Linked DNA regions of Homo sapiens: region 2 is linked to region 1. Evidence: promoter capture Hi-C in human tissues and cell types (Jung and others, 2019). All regions are on one chromosome and are shown on one strand. Each heading gives the region's core, a stretch centred on a gene start or on the middle of the fragment in contact. The rest is flanking DNA. Distances are from core to core; before and after follow the strand shown. Region 1 holds the start of EXOSC10 (exosome component 10). Region 2 overlaps LINC01647 (long intergenic non-protein coding RNA 1647).

Region 1 (4,476 bases), core at 321-2,820:
CTGGTGGCGCACACCTGTAATCCCAGCACTTCGGGAGGCCAAAGCAGGTGGATCACTTGAGGTCAGGAGTTCAAGACCAGCCTGGCCAACATGGTGAAACCCCATCTCTACTAAAAATACAAAAAAAAAAAAAAAATTAGCCGGGCATTGTGGCACACGCCTGTAATCCCAGCTACTTGAACCTAGGAAGCGGAGGTTGCAGTGAGCTGAGATTGCACCACTGCACTCCAGCCTGGGCAGCAGAGTGAGACTCTGTCTCAAAAAAAAAAAATAAACAGGGCAGGCACGGTGGCTCCGCCTGTAATCCCAGCACTCTGGGAGGTCGAGGCGGGAGGATCACAAGGTGAGGAGTTCGAGACCAGCCTGGCCAATATGGTGAAACCCCGTTTCTACTAAAAATACGAAAAAAATTAGCCGAGCGTGGTGGTGCACGCCTGTAATCCCAGCTACTCGGGAGGCTGAGGCAAGAGAATTCGTTGAACCCGGGAGGCGGGAGGTTGCAGTGAGCCAAGATTGCGTCACTGCACTCCAGCCTGGGCAACAGAGTGAGACTCCATCTCAAAAAAAATAAAAATAAAAATAGGCTGCACGCTGATGACTCGTATCTGTAATCCCAGCACTTTGGGAGAGCAAGAGTGAAACTTTGTCCCAAAAACATGGTTTTTTTTGTTTGTTTGTGACAAGGTCTCACTCTGTTGCCCAGGCTGGAATGCAGTGGTTCGATCTCGGCTCACTGTAACCTCCACCTCCCGGGCTCAAGCCTCAGCCTCCCGAGTAGCTGGGATTACAGGCATGTGCCACCACGCCCGACTAATTTTTGTGTTTTTAGTATAGACAGAGTTTCACCATGTTGGCCAGGCTGGTCTCCAACTCCCGACCTCAGGTGATCCACCCGCCTCGGCCTCCTAAAGTGCTGGGATTACAGGTGTGAGTCACGGCGCCCAGCCTCAAAAACATAACCTTAAAAAGAAATTTTTGAGACAGGGTTTCATCCTGTCACCCCGGCTGGAGTGCAGTGGAGCCTCCACCTCCTCGGCTCAAGCAACCATCCCACCTCAGCCTCCCGAGCAGCTGGGACTACAGATGCGCACCACCACTCCCGGTAATCCCGGTTTGTTTGTTTTTTAAATTTTTAAATAAACACGAGGATAAGCGGGGATCGTGGCCCTCGCCTGGGGTCCCTGCTACTTCGCAGGCTAAGGTGGGAGGATCTCTTGAGCCCAAGAGTTCGAAACCAGATTGGGCAAACCTCGTGTCAAAAATATATGTGATAGTCAGGTCCTCCAGGCCGCACCCTAGATCACAGGGTTGTTGGGATGATACAATATGAGGTAAAAGAACGTGAAATTCACACCAGAGCGCTCGAAAGTGCCACCCTAATCGCAGGCTTCCCAACCTAATCGCAGGCTTCCCAACCTAATCGCAGGTGCCCCACCCTAAACGCAGGCTTCCCAACCTAATCGCAGGCGCCCCACCCCAATCGCAGGCTCCCCACACTATAATCAGACGCCCCGCCCGCCGCTTCGACCTGGCGCATGCGTGGTGCGCACGCGTCCCGTCTCCTCGGCCGACAAGCTCTCGCGAGACGAGCCGTGCAGGCTGAAAAAATGGCGCCACCCAGTACCCGGGAGCCCAGGGTCCTGTCGGCGACCAGCGCAACCAAATCCGACGGAGAGATGGTGCTGCCAGGCTTCCCGGACGCCGACAGCTTTGTGAAGGTGAGTTCGCGGGGCCTCGGGGGTACCAGGAGTCGCCCGCGGCCGCCGGAAGCCGACTGGGCCCTCTGGGCAGCCAATGCCCGCCCGCCGTAGTGGAGCCCGAGCGAGGGTCGCGGGGCCCCTGTCCGCGCTGGGCGCAGACTCTCCTGCACCCTCCGGGGATGGGGCCTCGGAAACGGACACTGAGGGGCGTCCCGCTTGCGAGCCTAAGTCCATGGAGGCCCAAATGTGGAAAGCCGTCTCGCATCCTGGGAAAGGCTTCCTTGCCACCCAGACGTCCCTAGCCCTTGCGACGTCGCGCTCGCCACGCCCTAGCCACCCGACCAGCTCTCCGCAGGGGCTCGGCTTCTTCGCGCTCCCCACACTTGCCTGGAGTTGTCTCCTCCCGCGGCCAGTATGGCCCTTCTCTTCCTCTGTTTCTGAAGTCCAGTCCTACATAATTTTTAACCCTGAGTTAAATGTCACCTGTTAAAGCCCCATTGCACGTTTATTAGTAACTCCTGGAAGGTATACAGGGCGTTCACTTAAGATCTTTGTATAACTTAGCTTAAATATGAGCAAACGTACAACTAGGCTTAAGGTGTGCATAGCTCTTACAAAGCAATGAAACTAAAATAATTTGTAAATTAACCCTATAAATTTACAGAAATTCCACTAACGTTGTATCTTATCTAATTTGCTGTTAGCTAATGCTATTGATTCATTAACATGGCTCTCAATAGTTCCTGGACCACTAACTGTGGTCCTGGTTGTGTGGCGGTCATGCTCATAAGCTACCATGTTCCCCTCCGTGACTTAATTTCCCACCTCCTTTCTCTGCTTTTTTCTTGGGAAATGTTTATTCACAAAACTCACAATGACGTTTTAGGCCTTCACATGATCAGCCATCATTTATGTCACTTCACGGCTTTTTTTCGTTACCTCACAACAGTTAAAATAGAGAACCACTTGACACTAACTGAACAATAAACACAAATCCAGTTTTAGATAGTAGCTGTTATAAATTTGTCGTCCAAGGATCTAGGATAAGCTTGTATTGTTTTTAGATGCTCATCCAGATGAAAACACAAAAACAAATTCCTGTAGAAAGCTCTTGGATCTGAACTTGAGTCGTAATAATAACGCTTATGTGCCAAGAACTGTCCTAAGTGCTTTTATTAGCTTATTCATTCTGTCCTCACAAAAACTCTGTGGTGCAGGCCCTTTTTATTTTTCCTGTTTCTCAGAGGAGAACACTAAAGTCCAAATAAAGCAATCACTTGTCCAAGATCTCAGTTAATACGTAGCAGAGTCAAGATTCAACCCCAGGTATTTGTGAATATTAATCAGATTATATACGTATGTATTCTGTCTCTCAACTCTCCCAAGAATATAAGCTCCAAACTTGGTTTCCTGTTCAGTATTGTATTCTCAGGGCCTAGATTAGATTGGGGTTTGGCACTAAATGAGTGCTTTTTTTGATGGATGAAGAGTAGATACCTTGTATACGATAGATCAAAAAAATGACATACCAAATGAATGGGGATCCCTGTGTAAACATGCCATCTTTTCTTGTTTTTGACAGTTTGCTCTTGGGTCCGTGGTGGCAGTCACCAAGGCATCTGGGGGCCTACCACAGTTTGGCGATGAGTATGATTTTTACCGAAGTTTTCCTGGCTTCCAAGCATTTTGCGAAACACAGGGAGACAGGTTGCTTCAGTGGTAAGTACTGTACTTTGTTTTCTTGTGTTAGTGAAAAGAAATGAAAACAAAGAAGTAGATAAATTTTTCCTGAAATTTATTTTTCCTTAAACATTTTCTGTGGTATGAAGAGCTATAAAATGTGAAAATTGAAGCAATGGATTTTGATTAGGGAAATATTACTTGGTATATTTTTAGTTTAGCCTTTAAAAAATGTATTGACTTTTGTACTGAAAAAATATATTGACTTTTGTACAAATCTTTTTTAATTAAATGGGACGTGAACACTTAGAGCCAAGATTCTTTTTTTTTTTTGAGACGGAGTCTCGCTCTATTGCCCAGGCTGGAGTGCGGTGGCATGATCTCGGCTCACTGCAAGCTCCGCCTCCCAGGTTCACGCTATTCTCCTGCCTCAGCCTCCTGAGTAGCTGGGACTACAGGTGCCCGTCAACACGCCCAGCTAATTTTTTGTATTTTTAGTAGAGACAGGGTTTCAACATGTTAGCCAGGATGGTCTCGATCTCCTGACCTCGTGATCCACCTGCCTCGGCCTCCCAAAGTGCTGGGATTACAGGCGTGAGCCACCGCGCCTTGCCAGATCCAAGATTCTTTCCCACAACTTGTAGAGTAGCAGGTATTTTTATTTTTATTTTTATTTTTTTTGAGATGGAGTCTCGCTCCATCACCCAGGCTGGAGTGCATTGGCTCAATCTCGGCTCACTGCAACCTGCGCCTCCCAGGTTCAAGCGATTCTCCTGCCTCAGCCTCCCGAGTAGCTGGGATTATAGGTGTACACCACCACGACCAGCTTTTTTTTTTTTGTTGGGGGGGAGTACGGAGTCTTGCTCTGTCGCCCAGGCTGAAGTGCAGTGGCGTGATCTCGGCTCGCAGCAACCTCCACCTCCCAAGATCAAGCGATTCTTGTGCCTCAGCCTCCCCAGTAGCTGGGATAACAGGCATGTACGACCATTCCCGGCTAATTTTTGTATTTTTAGTAGAGGAGGTTTCACCATGTTGGCCAGGCTGGTCTCGAACTCCTGACCTTGTGATCCACCCACCTCAGCCTCCCATAGTGTTG
Region 2 (4,508 bases), core at 1,902-4,401, 510 kb before region 1:
TTACTTACTATTTTTATTTTCATTGACTCACTTTTAAAAAACTGAAATTTCATTTAAAGGGAAACTTTATATCACCACCATAAATAGGAAACCAGCATCCCCAGTCATAAATTCAGAGCAACATAAAAATGAATACATGACTATTAAAAAATGTCCACACGTGCACCACCTGAAAGCGACACCCACGTGGGCAGTGGTGCGTCGACACCGTGGAGAACCCGGATCAGGTCGAAGAAAGGGCTTCCTGCCCTGGTGGCCCTTGCAGTCTCAGGGCCAGCGTCAGGAGAGGGCAGGGGGCAGGTGATCCACCCAAAGAACCAGTGCCTTCTGGGGTCCTTCCAAACAGATGCAGCTGAAACCAGGAGGCCATAAGAAAAGAAGCAGAACTGGGGAATTTCTGTAGATTTTGAACTTTAGGGAACAACATGGAAATAGTATGCAAATTGCATGCCAACCTGAATTTGTTCTCTCAGGCCAATGACTCAGGCCTGTCGCCTGTGGCTCCTGTTCTGGTCTGTCTCCTCTGGTCCCTGGGTTTCCATGAGCCATACAGGAGAAAGGGGACTGTCCAGAGACCCCTGGCCTGGGAGTCAGGATGGAGGCAGTGAGGCTCTGCTGCTACATTGCCCTGTGACCTTGGACAGACCATTGGGCCTCTCTGGACCTCTGCTTCTTTATCTCTGCATGAGGAGGTCGAACAAGATGCATCTGGGGACCCAGTGATGGTTAATTTGATGTGTCAGCCTGACTGGGCCATGGTGCCCAGATATGTGGCCAAACCTTATTCTGGATCTTTTTGTGAGGTGTTCTTGGATGAGCTTAACATTCAAATCAGTGGACTTTGAGGAAAGCAGGTGGCCCGCCATAATGTGGGTGGGCCTCATCCAATCAGTTGAAGCCCTGAATAAGACAAAACCTGACCTCCCTTGAGGAAGGGGTAATTCTGCAGCAGAAACCTTGGGACTCGAGCTGCAGCATCGGCTCTTCTCTGGGTCTCCAACCTGCTGGCCCACTGTATTCGTCTGTTCTCACACTACTAATAAAAACATACCTGAGACTGGGTCATTTATAAAGAAAAAGAGGTTTAATGGACTGACAGTTCCACGAGGCTGGGGAGGCCTCACAATCACGGTGGAAGGCAAAGGAGCAAAGGCACGTCTTCCATGGCAGCAGGCAAGAGGGAGCTTGGGCAGGGAACTCCCTTTTATAAAACCATCAGATCTCCTGAGACTTATTCACTATCATGAGAACAGCATGGGAAAGACTCAGCCCCATGAGTCAATTACCTCCCATGGGGTCCCTCCCATGACATGTGGGAATTACAGGAGCTACAATTCAAGATGAGATTTGGTGGGGGGACACAGCCAAACCGTATCACCCACCCTGCAAATTTTGGACTTGCCAGCCTCTGTAATCACATGAGCCAATTTCTCGAACCTCTCTCTCTCCCCACTCTCTGTCTCCCTACCTACCTATACATGCATACACAACCTGTGTGTTCTGTTTCTCTGCAGGGCCTGACCAGTACAGGCCCCCTTTAGCCATTGTCTCCCTTTGGCATGAGGCAGAACAGATGTGCGCAGGGAGAGGACAGCAGCTGTTCTCCAGTTCCCTCAGCTTTTCCATTGCCCCTGCAAAAATGTAATAGAAAAACTCAGCTCAAAGTGGCTTCAGCCACACCAGGGCTTTATCAGCAGGTGTTACTGGGAGTACAGGGCTAAGGCAGTCTCCAGGGTTATTTGACTCAGCAGCTGGTATCAACAAGGCCCAATTATTTTCCTATCTCTCCAGTCTTTTCTATTTCTGATGTTAGTTTTGGTTAGAAGAGGGCTTCCCTCATGGTGGCAGAAAGGCTGCATAGTTCCAGCCGTACCTCCTAGTCCAAAAGGAGAGAGATGTCTGTGTCCTAGAATCCCAGCAAAAGTCCTCAGCCTGAAGGAGGGCTGACTGGCCCCCCTACTTCAGAGCCAAGATGTATGGCCAGAGGAATGACACAAACTGATCAGCTCACTATCTAAACCAATTGCTGTGGCGAGGGGCATGGGTTACCTCTTGGCAGGAGGGTTTGGGGCTATCGTGGGGTTGGCTTCACACAAACAGGGTGGTTGTTACACAGTGGATGTGTGTGTTTTGGGGGCCCATATAGATGCTTAGCTCAGAGGTTTAGCCCAGGTGGTCCAGGCCCTACCCCTTTCCCTTATTCCCCCTCTACTTCCTTCCCCTGTCTTCTTCTCTCTCCTCTGTGCTCACAGGCTGTGGCCCCACCCTGGCTAGCTGCCCAGGCCCTCTGCTGGGAACCCCTGATATAGCCATACCGTTTGTACCTGCCCAGTCTCATTTCTTCCCCTTCTGGTAACAGAACCCCGTCCCCTGGAGAGACATCCCCCCGTCACTCCATTTGGCTGTGGGGACGGTTGCATCCCTGCAGCCCTCCCTACTTACACAGCCATGAGATCCAGGCCGGGCCAATCAGACTTCTCTGGGATTTTGCTTCCCTCTTTCCTGTGAAGCCATTAGCTGGGTTGATGTGAGCTGGAGCTGTCTGTGGCCTCACCCCGCCCCTGCCACATGGAAGAAGCTGTGTGCAGAAGAGACAGAGACAGAGAGAGAGCACTAAGAGGTCAAAGGATAGGCTTTAGTCCCTGGATTCAGCTGTGTCTGAAGCCAGTGCTATCACACCTGGCCTTTTCCATTACCAGAGCTGCTAGATGCCCTTCCCCTTGAACTAGCTTGGTTGGGCTTTTGTGGCTCGTGACCAAAAGCCCCTGACTGGCATACCAGCATTCATTTCTTTATTCATTTAATTCAACAGTCAACACTTCCTTTGAGCCAGGTAATTCTGGAAGATAGGTACCGTTACTATGCTGATTTCATAAATGGGGAACTGAGGCATGGAGAATTTAAGCAACTTCCCCAAGGTCATTCAAGGTCATTTAATTAGTAATAGTGTCGCTGGGATTGAACCTGTCTCTGTCTGTTTCCAAACAGTCAGCTTCCTCCAGCCAGAAGCTGCTATGAAGTTATCCAGGCAGAGTCTGGCGAGAGGAGAGGCCAGCTTCTCCTAGGCTTTAATAATAGCAGCAGCAATAACAACAACATGCAACGAAGACTCATGATGTGCCAGGCAGTATTCCAAACACTTGACGTGGATTCTCCTCTTTAGGTGCTTATATGTATTTTTTAATCCCCATTTTTTAGATAGAAACACTGAGCTTCAGAAAGATGCAGTAATTTTCCCAGCATCTTGCAGCTAGGAAGTGATGGGTTGAGATTTTCTCTTGGCAACAATTTCCACTGGAGGGTCAGAGCCCAGGGCTAGGATTGGGTCTCTTCTGTTCCTCAGGAAGGCAGAGCCTCCCAGGCCATCCCTGTGCCAAGCACTGCTGTTAAATGCCCAATAACCGGCCAGGTGCCTCCTCCCTCCCTGGTCTTCAGAGCTGCTGGGTCAGGGACCTGGCTGATTTCCCAGTAGTAGAGCCTCAAGGGTGGGTCATGAGAGGGTATAAGTCACACACAGTATGATTCTCAAAGTGGCTTTGGCCTGTGTGTGACTGACTTCAAACAGCCATGGGAGGAGAGGGTGGGAGTGAGGAGGAGAGTGGGAGTGAGGGTTAGGAGTGGGAGTGCGGAGGGGCTGGTGCCTAGAACGCAGGTCTCCTTTGGGCTGGAGGCGCAGGCTTATGTTTGGTCTGTGGTGGCAACATGCCCCTCACAGTGGTGCCCGTCACCCCAGGTTCTTCAGGGTTCCGGTCTCTTGGGGGTGTTGGGGGGGCAGCTAATCTATTGCCTGCACACTCTCCCTCTTGGTAGGAAGTGTGCATCGTGACAGGGGCCTTCTAGAGCCAAGGTCTTACCCCAAAGATGAGGAGGCACAGGGGTGAAAACGCTAGAACAATGGATTCATCTTCCTGGGGGTCCCTGCAGGGACCAGGCTCACAAAAGACCCCAGGGAACCTGGGTAGCTCTTTCAAGGGTGTCCTGCTCCCTCCTGGGTCCCTCAGGTCCTCCCATCAGTGCCTTTGCCCTACGCTGCTGCGTTTCCTGTGCCCTGAAACACACAGGGCTACCTTCCTGAGCGCCCAGGCCTCCCTGCTGTTCACCCGCTTGGACTGGCTGTGTCCACAGCTGTCAACCCTCTGTGGCAGTGGATTATATTCAATTTAGCACTTGATTAAGCCCTGATATTTGCTTTTCCTTAAATTGCTTTAACTTTTCCAACTGATTTCAATCCCCTTTCCCCGAGTCTGCTCTGGTACCCCCCTGCTTGACTGCAGGCCACACTTTTTGGCCCTCTCCTATGTACCCACCCTGAGTTGCTCAGGCACAGAGGATCCAGGTTAAACACATGGATGTTGGCTCCAAGGATATCTCTCCCCTGCCTCAGCTCTGTACCAGATGCTGCCTTGGCCCCAGGATGAGGGAAGCCATGGGAGAAGCTGGTGGAGTGTCTCCGATGCTTCCTCTGAGGCAGGTTGGGGCAGGCCGGGCTGTGACAACAACTGTGTCCG

The links. The method cuts DNA at HindIII sites, captures the fragments that hold promoters and counts their contacts. A contact is called where the count stands out against the background at its distance.
Region 2: a contact is called between a fragment that was not itself captured here and the fragment with the promoter of EXOSC10 in region 1, in 1 of the 25 tissues and cell types used here (H1 embryonic stem cells).

Annotation. Positions count from the first base shown.
Region 1 is chr1:11,096,963-11,101,438 of GRCh38, reverse strand. It overlaps EXOSC10 (exosome component 10), which reads left to right and starts at 1,570. Exons shown (of 25, transcript NM_001001998.3): 1 at 1,570-1,718; 2 at 3,283-3,419. The coding sequence starts at 1,608. It overlaps EXOSC10-AS1 (EXOSC10 antisense RNA 1), which reads right to left and starts at 1,764. Exons shown (of 2, transcript NR_135062.1): 1 at 1,625-1,764. RefSeq lists enhancers at 1,281-1,841, 2,131-2,190, 1,842-2,404 and a silencer at 2,028-2,229. The HindIII fragment of the contact is 4,033 bases long and covers 396-4,428 here.
Region 2 is chr1:11,609,913-11,614,420 of GRCh38, reverse strand. LINC01647 (long intergenic non-protein coding RNA 1647) reads right to left here. Exons shown (of 3, transcript NR_104624.1): 1 at 4,308-4,508; 2 at 2,443-2,578; 3 at 1,066-1,631. Among named protein-coding and RNA genes, the nearest start is that of LINC01647, 2.6 kb to the right of the region's middle. The HindIII fragment of the contact is 5,030 bases long and covers 637-4,508 here.